Regions from separate parts of the Homo sapiens genome. Here regions 2 and 3 are each linked to region 1. The links are contacts of gene promoters, found by promoter capture Hi-C in human tissues and cell types (Jung and others, 2019). All regions are on one chromosome and are shown on one strand. Each heading gives the region's core, a stretch centred on a gene start or on the middle of the fragment in contact. The rest is flanking DNA. Distances are from core to core; before and after follow the strand shown. Region 1 holds the start of FGFBP1 (fibroblast growth factor binding protein 1). Region 2 has its middle 64 kb from the start of FGFBP1. Region 3 has its middle 37 kb from the start of FGFBP1.

Region 1 (3,487 bases), core at 674-3,173:
TGTGTCTGTCTCTGTGTGTGTGTCAGTGTCACTGTGTGTGATTCTGTGTGTGTGTGCCTATGAGTATGTGTGTGAATGTGTCTAGGTGTCAGTATGTGTGTGTCTCTGTGTGTCTATGAGTGTGGTGTCTTTGAGTGTGTTTGTGTGTGTTTGAGTGTGTCAGTGTGTGTTTGTGTGTGTCTTTGTATGTGTGTCAGTGTGTATGTGTATTTATGTGTCTGCGTGTGAGTACCTGGAAATGAGGTTGGAAGGGCAGGATGAGCCAAGGAGGTGACTGCCCCACAGCCTGCTCTGATGCTGTGCTGCTGAGTCTAGAAGGGAAAGAGCAAAGCAGACGCTGGGATGGGAGTCACAGGAAGGGGAAGGGCCACAAGGAGCCAGTGGGGAATGTGCAGTGTTACCTGGCAAAGCTCAGAGAAGCACTTCCCAGAAAGACCCCGGAGTCCACATGTTTCCTTGTAAATATGTTTTGTGTTCCAACTGCAATCTGCCTCCAGAAAGAATCTGCCTGCCTCCCAAGGATCAAGTAGAATTTTCCATTTTGTAGGAGACTCCCCTTGTTGAGCAAAGCAGCTTTGCCTTGCCTATGTCCAAATAATCCTCCAAAATACCGCATGAGAGAGCCTGTTCGTGGAGGTCAGGGCCTCAGCGGGGTGTTTGTGAGGATAGTGAGGACGGACCCCTGGGTGAGGCAATTTTAGGAGAGAGGCACACAGCTTCAGAAATGGCTTCTTCCAACAGATTCATGCAGAGACTGAGCCTCTGAGTAAATTGGTCAACATCTATAGCTATGACCACGGAATTCTCAAACAGGTGGATCGTTCATAAAATCCAAACACAGTTACAAGTTTTGGCCTGCATAGTGTTGAGCTACAGCTTTATTTTTAGAAAATTTTAATTAGCTGCCAACCAATTTCATATAAACACATCTGGATTTGGGGATGTCATTTTAAAAATCAGACAGTGTGACAATACTGAGCCTAATCCCTGCATTTTCTCAGTCAATTGGAGATGAGTGTTGACCTCTATGGAGGCAGAGACTCTCTAGTTTGCCACAGTCCCCATCACTCCCTATTGCCTTATCTCAAACCCAAAAGTCAGTTGCCATTTAATATCACACTAAACAATAGTTTTCTTATGGCTGAATTAAGGAAAAGTGAACAATTTCTTCTTCTGAAAATCTATGAAAGGTGAGGTGATAATATATAATGAGGGCCACATCTTCCCTGTAGAAGTGAGTTTCTTTTTAAATGCTGCATATGTAAATAACAAATGTCTGTTTTCAAAGTATACAACTTAAGACCCTGTCATGAGGCAAAACGATTCTGCTCCACTTTATGTTAACAGCTTAGCCCAGTAAAAATTTAGTATGCAGCTATAAAGGAGACGTTGTTATTGTCAGCACACTGCAAATGGATGATGGGAGAGGCTAAGTGGTTTGGGCATAGCACTCAGCTAAACACATGCTGTGGCCAGGATTCCACCTGGGTCATTCTGGTGTGGGACTGTGCCTGTAGCAGGCAGGGCAGCCTGAGCTCTCTGAATGAGACCTGAAGGTAAGTATTTACAACAGTAATCTTATATTAAAAATTCCCTCTTTACCAGCCTCTCAGAGCCTGGTAGAATTCCCTGATAAAAAAGAGGGAATTTTTAATGTAAATTTCCCTGCCTCTAGAATTAGGGTATCCTCTGCTTATGTAGTAACTTCAGATGGAAAAAGGAACTCAGACACTACGAAAACTTCGGCAACTTCAGTCACCCATTCAACAAAGATTTATTGAGAGTGGCAGGCAGGAAGAGATCAGACCATGGATGTAGAGAATCTCACTTTTAATTTTGAGATGTTCCTTTTCCTGCCTCTGTGAACTTGGACAAGCTCTTACATATCTCCAGAACCAATTCCTGCTTTTGTAAAAGGGGAGGAATCATTGCACTCCCTACTAGAGCGGATGTGATGAGGGAAAAGGAGAACTCAGGTAAAATGGGCTCAGTAGTTTGGCAGCTCGGATCATGTCATTATAGTTATTTTACTCCTCCATAGACATCACTGCTGGGGTCCTCTCCCCATCAAGGAGGGTCACTGTGAGGCTGAGTTGTCCTCCTATCCTGGCCACAGGGTGGACAGGGAAGGGCCTAGAGGAAGCGTTTGATGGCATGCAGGTAACCCCCCTTTTCACTGGATTACATCCAGCACTTTCCCTGCAGGAACCGGCTCCCTCGGAGGGGCGTGGCTGGGAGGAGCTGTGAGTAACGTGCCACAGTGTTGTAAAAACCCAGTGAGTGTTATAAAAACCCAGTCAGCCTGGCTCCTGTTGAATAGTCTACCCCCCTTGCACTCTACCTGACACAGCTGCAGCCTGCAATTCACTCGCACTGCCTGGGATTGCACTGGATCCGTGTGCTCAGAACAAGGTAAGAGCCTCGCTCCTTTAACAGCTTTATTACCTGCTGCCACTTCTCACTCCACCAAGGGCCTGGAGTTCCTTGGGCCTGCATTCCATCATGGGCAGGTGGGGGCTGAGCCCCAGGGCCGTGAGAAATGACTGGGTGTTTTTCTGGCATATCCAGTCTCCTCTTCACCATTTATTGCTGTTCTCTGCCCTTTTGTGATTGTCTTTCTCCTTCTTAACCCTAGAAGATGGCCAACTTCTAGGGTAGAAATCAGATCAGGACCATTTCCTGGGTCTGCCTCTTTTTATAAAAAATTCTGTGTTTTGTTTTAAATGGAGCACAAATAATACAAATCATCTTATCATTATGTGTTATATGAAACTAAATTGTCATTGTTCATAGTTGTTTTTCTTATTCTTTGGCAATGTTTTTAAAGGGCAGAGTAAATGTGAAAAGCAAAAAGTGATCAACCAGGGGTGACAGAAAGGAATAAGGAGATTGATCTGGCTACCCATACCAGCTTTGAACTTGCCCACTATGAGATCCTGAGCAATTTACTTACCTGTCTGAGCCTTAAGAGTCAGAGCTGTCACCTGGGATGACATATTAATAGCTACCTGGAAGAGCTCTTGTGTGGATTTCACAAGGTGGGAATCAAACCCTAGACCAGTACTTAGCACACAGGAGGTGTCATATAGAAACTGACTTCTCTTCTTCTGTTAAGCATGGGTTTTTATTGTACACATGATCAGATTCATGCAGTTCAGTGTGACGTTGGTGTTCATCCTATTGATTCAATGATTTCTCATGATCCTTGTCTTCGATCTTGTAGTGTGAACTATCTGGTTGAAATTCACCTCTCTCCACCCTGATTCACTTTGCCCAGGCAAATCAGACAACCACCCCACCTCACACCTTTCCTTAAACTCTTACTTCCCCACAAAAAGCTCCCCCACCCCCACAACCCCACCCACCCCACCCAAACCCCAGGCATGTTCAACTCTGGGTCAACATCACCTTTCATGATGCTTACCACATCCTTTCTCATTTTGGGCATCTGTCATGTCTTTTCTCATTTTGGGCATCTGTGTCCATA
Region 2 (3,487 bases), core at 482-2,981, 64 kb after region 1:
AAATCTTTCTACTTTATTTTCTGTTTTCTGATTAAATCTTGATGATATAACTGACATGGCAAATAACCCAAGAGGGTAAAGTGGAACTCTCAATGGAGATATTTAGATAGAATAGATTTAAGAGACCAAAGGGAATTGTGAGTCAGATGCCACAATCCTAAGAATATGCAAAAGATGAGGAAACAAAGAATTACTGTAAACTCTTTGCACCCCTTGAAGATTGAACTCTACAGCCTGCATGCTCCAGGCTTCAATGCACTCTGCCTTTTGGTTGGGTTCAGCCAATAGGAAGCATTAGCAGGAGCTAGGGGTGCAGTAGGAGAAAAGAGAGAGTGCTTATGTGAGTCCCTTGAAACACAATCATGGTGCCAGTATGGTGAGGTCAGGTGGGAGTTCTAATCTTAGCCACACACCAGCCAGAATAAGCCTTTTTATCATTTCATTTCCTTTCTTCCAGGCTGGGGTGGCTGCTTTCCTCACTTAGGGCCACTCGGCAGGTGGCTGATCTCCAATATCCAAAACTATCAACAGGTTCCAGGTACACTCATACCAGGGGGTGGTAACAGCTCCCCAGTGTTGCTACTTCTGTATGCTTCACCATCCCTGGCTGGTCTCATTAACCCTCCCACATATTTGGTAAATGACTCCTCTTTAAGTTCTCTTCAATTACCCTTCTGAGTGTGCCTCTGTTTTCTGTAGATACATGCCCTCATACAGACAGCATACAGGGGCAGAGAGCTGGGATTGAAGGGAGGACCTGTGAAGGGGATTTCCTTTGAGAGAGCTATACTGTGAGCCCCCACCTGACCTCAGCATACTGGCACCATGATTGTGTTTCAAGAGACTCATGAAAAAAGAAGGAAGGCATTCTCCCCACCTCACTTCAAGTCAAGAGGGGAGTTTTCACAAAGCCACTCAGAAAGCTCGACCTTTCCCTGGTGTGCAGGGGGATAAAATATCCCGTCTGATTACTTCATGAGAAATCTAAAAGTTGAAAGGTCAGTGGAACAGTTGCTGGCAGCTGAGGCTAGAGGAGAAGTGTCTGTGAGGGAACTTGCTGGTGTTCTGGTGTTCACTGGAGCAAAGGATGCCTGAGTGTGTCACATGAACCAAATACGGGTGAAATCAGAGCAAATCAGCATAAGACTTCCCAGGTCCCATCCAAAAAGGTCTTTAGGGAAGCCAAAGGCAACGTTGTAGAACATTTGAAGCTCCAATTTCCCAGGAGTTAAGAAGGGTAAGCAGAGCTGGGCATGGTGGCTCACATCTGTAATCGCAGCACTTTGGGAGGCCGAGGTAGGCGGATCGCTTGAGCTCAGGAGTTTGGGGCCAGCCTGGGCAACATAGTGAAACTTGTTCTCTACAAAAAGTACAAAAATTAGCCAGGCATAGTGGTGCACACCTGTAGTCTCAGCTACTTGGGAGGCTGAGGCATGAGAATCGCTTGGACCCAGGAGGCAGAGGTTCCAGTGAGCTGAGATCACACCACTGTACTCCAGCCTGGGCAACAAAGCAAGACTCCATCTCAAAAAAAAAAAAAAAAAAATGTCATGGGCCTTGCCTGAATTCTCATCCAGGGGCAAGAAAACAACAGCCCTGTGCACACAAGTGAAGGGGCAGTGACAAGCCAGCATCAAGTTGCTTTGCAACCACTTCCCACAGGCTACGCTTATTCAAAATAGCTGTTACAGCAACGCATATTCCTTTCTTTCTGTTAAAAATAGAGATGGAGTCTTGCTATGTTGCCCAGGCTGGTCTTGAACTCCTGGGTTCAAGGGATCCTTCTCCTGTGGCCTCCCAAAGTGCTAGGATTACCTGCAGGAGCCACTGTGCCCAGCCAGCTATGAATATTTTTCAAGCATTAACTGGCAAAACTAAGTAACAGGATCAAATCCATTCCTTAAATTGGGGCAACAGATCACCGTGTTTCTCAGGGTAAGAAGGATAGAGGAAAGTGCACAGCACCAGCCAGCCAACACAGAAAGCCAGGGAAACGGGACTCTGCAGGAGCATAGAGCCCCACCCGGTTCTAGTCTCCAGGGATTGGGAATTCAGGAGGATGAACATTGCGTGTGCCTGGAGAAGATAATGAATTAGGTTTGAAACAAACACACTGAGTTTGTAGAGGTTGCTCTTTGTACTGAGAAACTATAAGGCCTTGGGTATGTTTTTTATTCTCTTTGGGCCTCAGTTCCCAAATTCATAAAACATGTTGTTTAAATCAGATGATATTTAATGTTTATTGGCCTAAAAATATCTGAATAACATGTACCTAACCAGAAAAAGAAAAAAGCACTAAAGTATCCCGTTAATTTAGAAGATTGCATTAATCCATGTTAATCCATGTTAGCCTGGCCTTTTTTCTACCTCAGACCATTAAGATTATGTAAAATGAATGTATTAACCTATTCTCACACTGCTATAAAGAAATACCTGAGACTGGGTAACTTATAAAGAAAAGAGGTTTAATTGGCTCGTGGTTCCACGGGCTGTACAGGAAACCTTATAACTTCTGCTTCTGGGGAGACCTCAGGAAGCTTCCAAACATGGCGGAAGGCAAAGGAGGAGTGGCACATCACATGGCAGGAGCAGGAGGAAGAGAGAGGGGAGGTGCTACACACTTTTTAACAACCAGATTTCACGAGAACTCACTCGTGATGACAGCACCAAGGAAGGATGGTGTTAAACCATGAGAAACCGCCCCCATGACCCAATCACCTCCCACCAGTCCCACCACTCCTCCACCAGCATTGAGGATTACTTCAACATGAAATTTAGGTGGGGACACAGATCCAAACCATATCAATGAATAACAACTTTTAAAATGTTCTGCGTAACTTCCATTGCAGGGTAGAGTGGTTTGTTGGTGTAAAAGGTGTTCCCGGAACATAAACAAAACTAATTAAAATATTGACAAGAAAAAGAGCCCTGGAGGTAGAGGAGGAGACTGCCTCTGTTCCTTTTATTCTCTCCTGTATTTGAGTGAAGTGGCTGCCTGGGCCTTGGACGTCTGCAACGATTAACAAAATGAAAGCACAATTCTCTCTGAGTTAAAAAAGAGATAAGATTTGAAAACTTGGATGTCCTTAAACAAAATAGTAAGAAGGTTATTTCCCTCCTGCTGTATTATCTTGTATTATTTTGCTTTGCTCTATTCCTTTTAGAAAGCTAATTCCATTCTTTTTTTTTTTTTTTTTTTTTTTTGACATGGTCTGGCTCTATTGTCCAATCTGGAGTGCAGTGGTGCCATCTTGGCTCAGCATAACCTGTGCCTCCTGGGTTCAAACCATCCTCTCACCTCAGCTTTCTGAGTAGCTGGTACTACAAGTATAAACCACCACACCCGGCTAATTTTTGTATTTTGTAGAGACGGGGTTTCGCCATGTTGCCCAGAGTGGTCTTGAACTCCTGAGCTTAAGTGATCTGCCCTTCTCGACTTCCCAGAGTGCTGGGATTACAGGCGTGGGCCATCATACCCAGCCCCATT
Region 3 (3,487 bases), core at 461-2,960, 37 kb after region 1:
CTGAGGCAGGAAAATCACTTGAATGCAGGAGGCAGAGGTTGCAGTGAGCTGAGATTGCCACTGCATTCCAGCCTGGGTGACAAAAGAGATTCTGTCTCAAAAGAAAAAAAAAATAGCAACAGACTCCAGTTTGAGACTCTTATTGCTTAAGTGTGGGCACAAAAGAGGATGTTTTGAAACAGGCACTCTCCGACTCTGTTAGTAGTAGTATGATTACCACAATCTCTTTAGAAAGAAGTTTGGTAATATCTATTCAAACTTTTAAATAAGCCAACCCTTTAACTCAGAAGATCCATTTCTGGATATTGCCCTAAAATACATGTGGTAAGTGACATGTATGCAACATTAGTTATTGCAGTAGTGTTTGTAATAGCGAAAGCTGGAAACAACCTAAAAGAACATTAGTTGGGAAGTGGCAAGATAAATCGTAGATATCCATCTAAGGTTTGCAATTGTGAAAAGGGATGCAGAAGATATTTTGGGCTGATATAAAATCAGGCCCAAGGGGAAAAGGCAAAATACAGAACAGTGTGTGTGCAAGATGTTCTCAATTGTATAAGAAAAATATGGACATGTCTATATAAGTATGTTTGTTATATACACAATATATTACTAGAAAGAAATATAACAGTAGCTGTTTAAAAGAGGATAACTGGGGGGAAAGTCTTTTTACTTTATACACATCTGCATTAAAAAATTTTAACGTTCATGTATTGCCGTTTTAATTTAAAAAATTGTTAACAAAATCTATCCATATAATTTAAATACTAAATATTGCCATAAAAGTTGGCAAATAGATGTTGCTACCCACCTTTTCCTTGCCTTTGACCAAGATGAGTAAATCCACCAACCCTGAGAAAGGAAATCTGTCAGTAACCACTTCCCTTAGAAAATTCATTCGCTTTGACTGTCATCTGTGCTTTCATTCTTGCTGATGACTTTTGACAAATTGGGAAAAGACTCCACCAGCGAGGTGTCCCTGAGAGGCCAACTTCAGAAGGGGATCAAGAAAATGAGCCTCCACCTGTTATCTCTCCCTAGTAGCTGGGACTACAGGTGCCTGGTTGTTCAGGGATGGGCTCCAGGCTTGTGCAGGTGTGAATCACCCACTTCTGGATGGCAAATATGGCAGCTGCCAGGCCTGACCTAATGAATTAGAATCTCTGTTATGAGGCTCTGACAGCTACATTTTTAAAATCCCCTCCCTGCCACTTTGAGGTAGTTCTGAGACCCACAGCTTGGTTAACTGCCTCCCTCTCCAATTTACACTTAAATGCCCTGAATTTGGCCTCACTAAAAGATGACAGTTTCCTAATGGACTTCTCAGCAAGATGACATAAAAAGTATCCCCTATGAAGCTGGAGGCAGAATACTGTTCAGTCCCCAACAAGGGTGTCCATGTTCTAATTCCTGGAACCTACATATATGTTATCTTCCACGACCAAAGAAAATTTCCATATCAAGGTAAGGGACTTGAGATGGGGATGGCATCTTGAATATCTAGTTGGGCTCAATCTAATTACATGAACCCCTAAAAGAGAAGACCCTTTCCTAGCTGTAGTCAGAGAGAAATGTGTATGGACAAAAAGAGATGATGGTGCTGGCTTTAAAGATGGAAGATGGGGCTACAGCCAAGGAATGTGGGTGGCCTTTAAAAGATAAAAAACTCAAGGAAACAGATTGTACCCTGAAACTCCTAGAAAAGAACATAGCCCTGCCGACATGTTGATTTTCGTCCGCTGAGACCTGTGTAGGGCTTCTAAGTACTCAGGAGGCTGAGGCAGGAAGATTGGCTTGACCCCAGGAGGTTAAGGCTGCAGCAAGCCATATTTCCAGTACTGTACTCCAGCCTGGGCGACAGGACAAAACCCTGTCTCTAAAAAAAGAAGAAGAAGCAGAAGCAGAAGAGAAGAAGAAGTGGAAGTGGAAGTGGAAATGGAAGAGGAAGCATTAGCAGCAGCAGAAGAAGGAGAAGGAGAAGGAGAGGAAGAAGAAGAGAAGAAGGAGGAGAAGAAGGAAGAAGCAGCAGACACTGCATGGCAGGATTGAGGACCCAATCAGAATAAATTTGTGTGAGATGATAAATTTGTCTTGTTCTGGGCCACTAAATTTGTGATACTATGTTACAGTGGTAATGGGAAGCTAATATATAAATATTTTGGGCAAAAGTGTTCAATGTGAATCTAAGATTACAAGAAATACAGCGACTAAAGGAATGATTTAAATGATATTAGAAAGAAATAACCAGGGCTAGGTATGGTGGCTCACACCTGTAATTCCAGCACTTTGGAATGCCAGTGTGGATGGATTGCTTGAGTCCGGGAGTTCAAGACCAGTCTGGGCAACATGGCGAAAGCCCATTGCTACAAAAAATATGGAAAATTAGCTGGGTGTGGTGGTGCATGCCTGTAATCCCAGCTACTCGGGAGGCTGAGGCAGGAAGATCTCTTGAGCCCAGGAAGTGGAGGTTGCAGTGAGCTGAGATCATGCCATTGCTCTCCAGCCTGGGCCACAGAAGAAAATCCTGTCTAAAAAAAAAAAAAAAAAAAGAAAAAGAAAGAGAAAAAGAGAAAAAAGAAGGAAGCAACCAGCAACCAGGCAAACTAAGATTTAGTATGTTATTGAATCAGCTAATTCTTAGTTTGGCTTTATAGATTGGCTAGATTATTCACAAGGCAATGTTAAGCATAAAAAATCCAAAAGGGACTGCTTTGGGTGAAAACAGACAAAGGAAACATAACCAAAAGTAATATATGATACTTGATTAGATCCTAATAAAGCAGCCTATAAAATACATTCTTGAGGCAAATGGAGAAATTTGAATATAGTCCTTATAGTAGATTATATCATAGAATTATTATTAATATTCTTAGTTATGATAATGTGGTTAGTAGAAGAATATTATTATTCCTGGGAAATACTTGCTGGAACAGTTAGGGGCAAGGTATCATAGTGTCTGCAGCTTACTGGAAAAAAAGAAGGAAGGGAAGAAGGAAGAAAATGAATGAAGAAGGAGAAATAGACAGTAAAGAAAGAGAAAGAAATAAGTATAGATGGCAAAATGTTGACTCCTGTGTAACTGGACTGAAGGGTTTCTGGGAGTTCATTGTACAATCTTTCTATTTTGCTTATATTTTAAGACATTCATAGCAAGACTTGGAGACCTGAGCTAGTGGAGAGTTTGAAGACAGAAGAATGGACCCTGAATCATCTGTCTTGGAGATACTATAGATGGGTTGATCCTTGTGTGTTGGATTTTGCTATGGCTTTCATTCATGTCTTCATTCATTTATGTATCCTTCTAGGCACATACTTGTCAAATACACATTAAGTATCTCTTCTAATCTGGTTCAACTTTTATGTAACAAAGTTGTGAATTGTTTTTCAGTTGCCATGGCCCCCCGGCTTAAATGTCAGATAACCTGAGCATGCCCAGATCAACCAAGTGTGCAAACATGCTGGTACCTGTTCTCAGACTGAGAGCAAA

The links. The method cuts DNA at HindIII sites, captures the fragments that hold promoters and counts their contacts. A contact is called where the count stands out against the background at its distance.
Region 2: a fragment that was not itself captured here is called in contact with the fragment with the promoter of FGFBP1 in region 1 in 1 of the 25 tissues and cell types used here (spleen).
Region 3: a fragment that was not itself captured here is called in contact with the fragment with the promoter of FGFBP1 in region 1 in 7 of the 25 tissues and cell types used here (H1 embryonic stem cells, dorsolateral prefrontal cortex, heart left ventricle and 4 more).

Annotation. Positions count from the first base shown.
Region 1 is chr4:15,937,176-15,940,662 of GRCh38, reverse strand. It overlaps FGFBP1 (fibroblast growth factor binding protein 1), which reads left to right and starts at 1,923. Exons shown (of 3, transcript NM_005130.5): 1 at 1,923-1,976; 2 at 2,192-2,412. The HindIII fragment of the contact is 13,154 bases long and covers 1-3,487 here.
Region 2 is chr4:15,873,394-15,876,880 of GRCh38, reverse strand. No RefSeq gene overlaps it. Among named protein-coding and RNA genes, the nearest start is that of FGFBP1, 64 kb to the left of the region's middle. The HindIII fragment of the contact is 3,755 bases long and covers 1-3,487 here.
Region 3 is chr4:15,899,645-15,903,131 of GRCh38, reverse strand. No RefSeq gene overlaps it. Among named protein-coding and RNA genes, the nearest start is that of FGFBP1, 37 kb to the left of the region's middle. The HindIII fragment of the contact is 6,221 bases long and covers 1-3,487 here.